Linked DNA regions of Homo sapiens: region 1 is linked to region 2. Evidence: promoter capture Hi-C in 16 types of primary human blood cells and fetal thymus (Javierre and others, 2016). All regions are on one chromosome and are shown on one strand. Each heading gives the region's core, a stretch centred on a gene start or on the middle of the fragment in contact. The rest is flanking DNA. Distances are from core to core; before and after follow the strand shown.

The links. The method cuts DNA at HindIII sites, captures the fragments that hold promoters and counts their contacts. A CHiCAGO score of 5 or more calls a contact.
Region 1: a contact is called between a fragment that was not itself captured here and the fragment with the promoter of ANKEF1 in region 2, in 1 of 17 cell types (naive CD8 T cells). The highest score is 5.4, in naive CD8 T cells.

What each region holds. Positions count from the first base shown.
Region 1 is chr20:13,626,114-13,630,948 of GRCh38, forward strand. TASP1 (taspase 1) reads right to left here. Exons shown (of 14, transcript NM_017714.3): 2 at 3,821-4,039. The coding sequence starts at 3,965. Among named protein-coding and RNA genes, the nearest start is that of TASP1, 10 kb to the right of the region's middle. RefSeq lists a silencer at 689-983. The HindIII fragment of the contact is 1,665 bases long and covers 2,149-3,813 here.
Region 2 is chr20:10,032,325-10,037,250 of GRCh38, forward strand. ANKEF1 (ankyrin repeat and EF-hand domain containing 1) reads left to right here and starts at 2,663. Exons shown (of 11, transcript NM_022096.6): 1 at 2,663-3,009; 2 at 3,255-3,318. The region is part of intron 3 of SNAP25-AS1 (SNAP25 antisense RNA 1); the gene reads right to left. RefSeq lists a silencer at 2,454-3,003. The HindIII fragment of the contact is 1,358 bases long and covers 2,071-3,428 here.

The sequences.
Region 1 (4,835 bases), core at 1,731-4,230, 3.6 Mb after region 2:
TGTATGGAAGGTTAAGAAATACACCTCTAGGCCAAACACAGTGGCTCATGCCTGCAATCCCAGCACTTTGGGAGGCTGAGGCGGGAGGATCACTTGAGGCCAGGTGTTTGAGACCAGCCTGGCCAACATGGAGAAACCCCATCTCTCCTAAAAATACAAAAAAAGTAGCCAAGCATGGTGGCACATGCCTGTAATCCCAGCTACTCAGGGGGCTGGGGCACGGGAATAGCTTGAACCTGGGAGGCAGAGGTTGCAGTGAACCAAGATCATGCCACTGCACTCCAGCCTACGCAACAGAGTGAGACTTTGACTCCAAAAAACAAACAAACAAACACATGTTTTCCATTTTAAAAAAGACAAAAACAGAAAAGCTACATCTCTAGGCCTTAGGATTCCTACAGGTCTGCAGACTCTGACACAAACCTAACCTACCTTTCCTCAAGGTAGAGAAAGCACTCACCCACGAAACTGTCGTACAAGGAGCCAGGAAAGCAGAGATGCCCAAGCCACCAGAATCCACAATACACCCAAATCCTAAACCTGTTTCTCAAGAGAACTCTGAACATTCACAGAGCCTGTGCCAATATTTAATAGGCCTCTCTTCATGGTTCTCTAAGAACAGGTGATCTCAAGTTGGCTGTCTTAGATCTCAGAGGCCACAATCTTTCAGCAGCATTTCCTAAAGCATGGGATACTATTCCAAAAAGATGACTTCAGTGTAAGGGACAAGGGCATTTAATAGCCTTAACATGTAAATCCTTTTGAAATAATAAAAGTCTCAGCAGAGCCCCCCCCCCACCCCGTACATCTTTAATTCCTGGTTAACACTTGCTAATTTCCCTGTTTAACAATGGAAAGGCAGGCTCAGGATCCAAGCCACTGACAAATAGGATCTAGTTAAACTTCAATTACAGTGTTTTGTTTGCACTGTGTTTAAAGTTATTTTCTCTTTATGGCAAGTGATACTGCTATTTCATTTAAGTAACCATAAACTTCATTTTTCAAATGTTAAGATTAAAAAGCGTTTAGTTGTTTGAATATTAGATAAAACAGTATAGGCAGTGGGAAAAATCAAGAATCTACTACATGAATCACAAAAGTTTGGGCAAGTCTACTCTAGTGCTAAAAAAACTGCTCTACACTGGACAAGGATATGAATTTTTGACCCTTAAATGTGCAAGATACACGCTTTTGCATAATCAATCACTCTTTCTAATAATTTAGAAGTGAGGGTCACCCTTAATTCACACAATATCCTATCATAACTCAGAGTTCCTACTCTTCTTGCTGACCCCCAGCACCAACCTTTACCTGAGAGTATGAAATTAAATAATTCAAAGTTAAAACTGTTGAACCAGCTGGGCACGGTGGCTCATGCCTGTAATCCCAACACTTTGGGAGGCCGAGGCGGGTGGATCACCTGAGTCAGGAGTTTGAGAGCAGCCTGGCCAACATGGTGAAACCCCATTTCTACTAAACATACAAAAATTAGCCGGGCATGGTGGCACGTGCCTGTAATCCCAGTTACTCAGGAGGCTGAGGCAGGAGAATTGTGAAGCTTGCAGAGTGAGCCAAGATCACACCACTGCAGCCTGGGCAACAAGAGCGAAACTTAGTCTTAAAAAAAAAAAAAAAAGTTGAGCCATTAAATCATTCTGAGCCTTGAAAGGAATGTGGCTATGCACCCTGAGTCACACAACATGCAGCTGCAACTTTTGCCTTTTTCCTGTAAATAATTAGGAAGACCAAACAACACCAGAGATAAGACCCTCTCAGATCACTGCCCCTTCTCACAAAGTAAAAAGTAATCTTCCTTAGGATGTAGCAATCTATAACCAATCAAATTGCTGTAACTTATGCACTGGTCTCCTACGGAAAATGTTACCATCCTGCTAAAATTTTTCTATCTCTACCTACATAAATGAAAACTTAACTTCTCCACTTTGGAACACAGACCCCATTTGTTTGGAGTCAGTGTTTCCCAGGTGGACATCCTCAAGCTTTGTGCATGAATAAGCTCTACCTTTAATCATAGCTTCTGAATTCCATTATTTAAGGTTGGCAGAGCCATTATCATCTAGTCTGTGTCTAAGACAGGAGGGACAGGGTCATAATAGTTATAGAAAGTAAGGCTTTCCAACTAATTGAAGCTTTATGTTATTGCTTGTTACAACTTTCAGACCTTTCTTTTACACTTTCCAAACACTCACTCTGAATACGGTAACTCACTGGTATCATGGAAGATAATGGAAGATGTACCATCAACATAGTGTAGTGGAAAGAACACAGACTAGGAGTCTGAAGGCAGAAGCTCTAGTCCCAGGTCTACTTTTAACTGGATTATTTCTGTAAATTTACCTCACCTCCTTGTAAAAGCACCTGTGAGAAAATGGGATTAAACCTGGTTTCTGGTTTTTTGGATTTGTTTAGATACTCTGGATTAGATTCACATAAGGCTTCTCGGGTTGTCCAGTCTAGATATGGCCAAACGTTAATGGCCAGGCAGGACACCAGTCTCACAAGAAGAAACATTTCTACTCCTCATTCCATATCAAAGTTAATCCTGCTGTCATCTTGCTTGACTACCCAGGGAAAGTTAAAAGGAAACCCAGACATTCTTTCTCTCTTCATGGAGGTCATGGAAAGTAGACTCTGAATACAAGAAAATAAAAATGGCCAAAGGAAAAAGAGCCTGCTGAGGAAACCTGGGCAGAGCAGCACTGTTCTGCAACCCAAGACCTTTTAAAGATGGGAGGCCCAGGGGATGAACTCCACTGTGTCTGTCCTCATGGTCCTCTGAAGTAGAAAGATCACAGGCTGACACAGCATCAAAAGCACTAGACTGAGACATAAGGGCCTACTTAGGTGTTTCTTACACTGGCTCTAGCACCAACCACCAGTGTCTGAAGTCTCTTAAGTCACTTAATCTCTCTGGTCTTAAGGTTCCTCACTTAAAATATTAAGAGGGTGGGCCGGGTGTGGTGGCTTACGCCTGTAATCCCAGCACTTTGGGAGGCCAAGGCAGGTGGATCACCCGAGGTCAGGAGTTTGAGACCCACCTGGCCAATATGGTGAAACCCCATCTACTAAAAATACAAAAATTAGCCAGACGTGATGGTGGACGTCTGTAATCCCAGCTACTCAAGAGGCTGAGGCAGGTGAATTGCTTGAACTTGGGAGGTGGAGGCTGCAGTGAGCCAAGATCACACCATTGCATTCCAACCTGGGCGACAAGAGTAAAACTCCATCTCAAAAAAAAAAAAAAAAAAGAAGGTGAACCAGCTCAAAGATTGTGTAATAATTATGCCCTAAGATACCCACAGTCTCACATGGGAATCAATACAATTTTTTCAGCAATATTTTATTTTATTTTATTGAGATGGTGTCTCGGTTTGTTGCCCAGGCTGGAGCGCAGTGGCATGATGTCGGCTCACTGCAACCTCCACCTCCTGGGTTCAAGCAATTCTCCTGCCTCAGCCTCCCACAGCAACATTATTTTTAAAAAACATAAACCAGAGTTCAAAAATTACTTTGTCTGGTTTTAATACTACCTAACCTAAATACATCTATTACATAGAGTTAAAGTAAATAATAGGTTAGGGAAGTGAAAACCTAGGAAGAGCTGCCATTCTAAGATCTTCTAACTGGGGAGTAAAGAGGGAGGTCCTCACTATATCCAAGTCAAACAATCGCTTTGCTTCCAATTCCTCTCTGGCAGTTTTGCCTCCTCCAAGTGTGAAATGTGATTCTCAGTGTACTTCAAGGCAGAAAAAGAAAAATCAACATTATTGGCATCTTCCAAGCCATCCACAAAGCTTACCTGCATGCACCAACACAAAGCCTCCTCGTTTCTCTTTATAGGACTGCTTTGTTTCCAACTCTTTGGCTGTTATTTTACCAGCCGAAACCTGAGATGATCTGGAAGGCAGCCCTTCTCCAGAACTCATCCCCTTCTCCATGGTCATTCTCCAAGATTACCATCTTCTACTGAGAAAGGGGCATACTTCCATCCAAAAGTAATTGCAGGAGAGGAATTACCCTAAAGGAAAACAGGCAAAGATGGTATACATTTCTTTCCACCAACACATAAGTTACTTACACAAATTCATGCAAAGATAATGTTCAAAAATCCTATTTTTAAGTTATTTAATTGAGCAATACAAAAAAGGTATCAAAGCTATTTATTAAAATTATTTTTTCTTATTCCCATTGAAGTCGGATAAAATTATTTAATTGGGTAATATAAAAAGGTTAGAATTTAAATCTCTCTGTCCACTGATAGTACCTGCTTAGGGGCGAGCGCAGTGGCTTACACCTGTAATCCCAGCACTTTGGGAGGCTGAGGCGGGTGGATCACCTGAGGTCAGGAGTTCGAGACCAGCCTGACCAACATGGTGAAACCTCATCTCTACTAAAAATACAAAAAATTTAGCTGGTGTGGTGGCACACACCTGTAATCCCAGCTACGCAGGAGGCTGAGGCAGAAGAATCACTGAACTCAGGAGGCAGAAGTTGCAGTGAGCCGAGATCGCACCACTACACTCCAGCCTGGGCAACAAAGTAAGCTCTGTCTCAAAAAAAAAAAAAAAAAAAAAAAGGAGTCTCAAAAAGAAAAAAGAAAAGAAAAGAAACATAAAGAAGTTACTTAGCTGCCTATTCCAAAATAAAAAAAAGCAGGTTACTCAGAACACACTCTACATCCCAGTGTTTATTACCAGCCCACAAGAGAGTATTATTTTATTCATGTTAGTTGCTTTATAAGCACATTTTCAATAATCAATATGTGTAGTTTTCACAATTCTTTTCTAGTTCCTCATGTTATTTTTTAAAACAAT
Region 2 (4,926 bases), core at 1,413-3,912:
ACCTTTGTGTCCACACTCTGTAGCCAGCTAATCTGGTGGGGACATGGAGAACCTTTGGGTGTAGCTCAGGGATTGTAAACGCACCAATCAGCGCCCTGTCAAAACAGAGGACTCGGCTCTACCAATCAGCAGGATGTGGGTGGGGCCAGATAAGAGCATAAAAGCAGGCTGCCTGAGCCAGCAGTGGCAACCCGCTTGGGTTCCCTTCCACACTGTGGAAGGTTTGTTCTTTCACTGTTTGCAATAAATCTTGCTGCTGCTCACTCTTGGGGTCCACACTGCTTTTATGAGCTGTAACACTCACTGCGAAGGTCTGCAGCTTCACTCCTGAAGCCAGCGAGACCACGAGCCCACCAGGAGGAACCAACAACTCCAGAAGCGCCGCCTTAAGAGCTGTAACACTCACCGTGAAGGTCTGCAGCTTCACTCCTGAGCCAGCGAGACCACGAACCCACCAGAAGGAAGAAACTCCGAACACATCCGAACATCAGAAGGAACAAACTCCAGATGCGCCACATTAAGAGCTGTAACACTCACCGCGAGGGTCCCTGGCTTCATTCTTGAAGTCAGTGAGACCAAGAACCCACCAATTTTGGACACAGTTTGACAATAAATTTACACTCAAATATCTCTAAGGAATCAAACTTACAGATTAATAATTAGTAATCAGGTCACGTAAAGTAAATTATAAAAGAGCATTGATACCAAGATTGGCAGAAAGTTTTTTGTGTGACAAAACCAAGTTTTGGCTAAGATACACACTGCTGATGGGAGTCTAAATTGCTGTATATGTCGGGAAAACAAGTTGTCTTTATCTTGATGTTATAAATAACCTATGACCCAGAAATTTAACTCCTAGACATATACTCTAGTGAAACTCTTGAACGTGTGCGTCCAAAGACATTTATAAACATGATCTTAGTAGTATTGCTTTTAGTAGCAAATTCTGGAAACATCCCAAATGTCTATCAATAGTGGAATTGATTTGAAAGGGGTGTGGAATGGTAATATAATGGAATAGCCTACAGCTGTTTAGATAAAGGAACTCCAATTAAACATACCAACAAAGATACATTTCAAAAACAAGACGTTGAAAGGAAAAAAGTCATCAAAACAATACACAACATTCTACCACATTTTTATAAATTCTCAAAATATGCAATATTAAACATGCATTATTTAGGGAGGCATTCAATGTAGCAATGCATTTTTAAGAGGCTGGGATGATAAATGTAAAATTCAGAACAGGTATTATCTCTGGGAACAGGAAGAGGAGGATGCAGTGTTGGGAAGAAATACATATAAGTACAGCAGTAGAGGCAGACTTTTTTTTCCTTTTCCTTTTTCCTTTATTTTTCCTAGCTTTCTTTTTCTTTAGCTATGGTATTTCTTTAGCTATGGTATGGTATGGTATGTACTTTCCATATATCATACAGTATATTTTGGTGTGCATGAAATAGTCCTTAATAACATTTTTATTATTTTTTATTTGACGTTTAAGTTCAGGGGTACATGTGCAGATTTGTTATATAGGTAAACTTGTGTCATGTGGTTTTGTTGCACAAATTATTTTCTCACCCAGGTATTAAGATTAGTACCCATTAGTTATTTCTCTTGATCCTCTCCCTCCTCCCACTCTCCACCTTCTACCCTCCAATAGGCCCCAGTGTGTGCTGTTCCCCTCTATGTGTCCATGTGTTCTCATCACTTAGCTCTCACTCATAAGTGAGAACATGCAGTATTGGGTTTTCTGTTTCTGCGTTAGCTTGCCAAGGATAATTGCCTCCAGCTCCATATTCCTGCAAAAGACATAATTTTGTTCCTTTATATGGTTGCATAGTATTCCATGGTGTATATGTACCGCATTATCTTTAGCCAGTCTATCATTGATGAGCACTTAGGTTGATTCCATGTCTTCGCTCTTAACATTTTTAAACAGTCTCTGAGTAGAATAGGGTAGGCTGGTGTAAGGAATTACTGTTTTTAATTGGAAGCAATTACATACTGCATTAAAAAGCATATATATATAGACACACATATATATGTTTTACATTCACATAATCAAACCAAAGCTTTCAGAATTTTCCGCCAAAAAGCATGTGTGGAGGGAGAGAGAGGGGTGTTATGGTGCATTTGTAGGCCCTGAAATAAAGTGATCTCCATATTTGCTTCCATTTGTGTATAAATATTTTTTAAGCATATATGCATCCTAGAGTATGGAAAGAAAATTTCTGGGAAGATTTGCAAGAATCTGTGGCAGTTGAGAGTAGGTTCACTTTCGCTTTATTGTGTAATTTATTGTATTTTTCATTTAATTGTACTTTGTAAACTAAATATTTATTGTATATTTTACTTCATTTTTTAATTGCCATATGCAGCTTTAATTTTATAACTAAATTACGTTCTGACCCAGGGCAGGAGGTGGGAGAAGAGAATGAGAGAAGGGCGGAATCCTCAAGACAGCAGCATTCTGCGCTCCGCCCTGGAACACCCAGCGCAGCTACCCCATCCCGCCCAGGCCGGCCACCTGGCGTCGAAGCCAGGCGCGAGGGGCGGAGGCGGAGGCGGGGGCGGGGGCGGAGGCGGAGGCGGAGGCGGAGGCGGAGGCGGAGGCGGAGGCGGAGGCGGAGGCGAGCACCGCCCCACCGCGCACGCTGCGGTTGCCCCGGCAGCCGCGCCCTGCGTGGCGGAAGCTCACAATCAGCCCGGTCCCTCCGGCTTCCACCCCGCCCCCTGCGCTCACCTGCCCGCGCGCTCGCCTTCCGGGGACCCGGGGCCCATGGACACATACACCCAGCCCTGCTGTCCCGCGCGCCAGCTCACCAGCCCTACCCAAGGGACATCATTCACGCCTGGGCGCCTCCGCCGGGCTCCGGGAGCCCAAGGTCGCGGCTGGGCCAGCGCTGAGCGTCAGAGGACGAGAGCAGGGGCCTCCCCGGTCGCCCCAGCAGGCCCAGGCACATAGGTGCCCAGAGATCCCTGGCTTCTGATCGCCCGGAAGACTAAGAGGTGAGCATGACACATGGCTTTTCCTTTGACGTTACATCTCTACCCCCTCCACTCCTCTCTTCTCCAGATTTTTCTGGAGACTAAAAAGTGGAAAGCACAGTAGAGAACCCCCAACATGTAAACTATCGCTTACACTTGTGGGTGAGCTGAAACCCGCAAAAGTTTGGTGTATTCATAAGGAGCCTATATTGAAGGACTTTGCTAAATGTTTTACAAGGATCATATCTCATTTCCTTTTCACACAGTCCCATGAAGTGGGCACCATTGCTATTGCCAGTTCACAGATGCAGAAACTGAGGTAAAAACTAGGTAGGTAGCATATCCATATTTATATCCAACTAGTTTGTGTAAATAATGATACAGGGAAGGGAGGATCACAACGGATTTCCCCACCTCAAACCCTACATTCCACTGTACCAAGCTTGTCTTCCTCCATTCCTCTTTCTAATGATCCTTCCTTGTCGCACAGCCCCCCTTTGAGAGTTAAATGACCTGAACACACACAGATTCCCACAGATTTTCATGTAATTTCCGAGTATTCAGACCCCGAACATGGACCTCAAGTCAAGACATTCTGCTCTATTCCACTACCTTGGTAGATGGTTAGATGTGACTAAGGTGGCCCAGGGTCATGCTGGGGAAAAGTACAGGTGTGCTTGTATGTGGAGGATCCTATATGCTGCTCAATTTACAAGGAACCCAGGACCCAAGGGCTACACTTGTGTGATTTCCTGCAGTGGGGTGAGCTCTTGGTCAGTCTTAGCAGTTGATTGTGAAGGACACTATACAGGGTGCTGCCCTCTCCCCAGCACTTCAGGGCTTTAGCTGGGAGGGAGGCAGTCCACAGGAAACCGACCCATGGACCTACTGAATTCATCACTGTAGCTGCTAATTAATTCTCCGTTAGAGATGGGTGCTAACAGAGGCAACATTGAAGTCCCTGATTGGGAAATCCTTATTTTCACAAATCAAGTGGCATTGATTCAGTCTAATCATTACCTATGTAGGAGCATCTTGCCCTATTCCATAGATGACACATATACATATGCAGTATGATGACACCGCACCTAATCGGAATATGGCCGATAATAATAAAACAAGCCATAAATAGCAGCTAAGGTGAGTGTCACCAAGCCGTGCAGCAAAGTCCAAGTGGATGACTCTGAGGCAGCCTCAGTTGGTTCCCTAGTCCACCGCATGTTATAAACAGATTAAAAGGCAAAGGAGGCCTGGCCCGGTGGCTCACGCCTGTAGTCCCAACACTTTGGGAGGCTGAGGCGGGTGGATCACCTGAGGTCAAGAGTTCAAGATCAGCCTGGCCAACATGGTGAAACCCTGTCTTTACTAAAAATACAAAAATTAGCCAGGTGTGGTGGTGGGCACCTGTAATCCCAGCTACTCGGGAGGCTGAGGCAGGAGAATCGCTTGAACCCAGGAGGTGGAGGTTGCAGTGAGCCGAGATTGTGCCACTACACTCCAGCCTGGGTGACAGAGTGAGAGTTGGGCTGAGGGTCGAGGGTCATGGGATAGGGCGAGACACCAGGGGAGTGTGTGAGGACAGAAAAGAGTCTTGAGGACCTAGCCCTGGGCACCCAACATAGGCTTCTTGAAATGGGGAGTCAGCAAAGGAGCCTGAGCAGGAGGGGGCATTGGTGTTGGATGGAAGCAGGCGATGGAGATGTTGTGGTGCCTAGAGAGACACATTTAAAGGAGAGAGAGCTCACTGCCGTAGAGAATGTAGGTGAGGGAGCAGGCTTGCGATGGAGAAAAATGGTGCATAGTTTCAACTTTTGTAGTAAGATGGAATCTTTTCATTGCAAATGTTGGAAACTTAGCTAACTAGCTTATACCAAAATAAGGTGACGGGGGAGAAGATGTATTTACCCACAAAGTGGTAGATGGCTTCTGGCACCATGG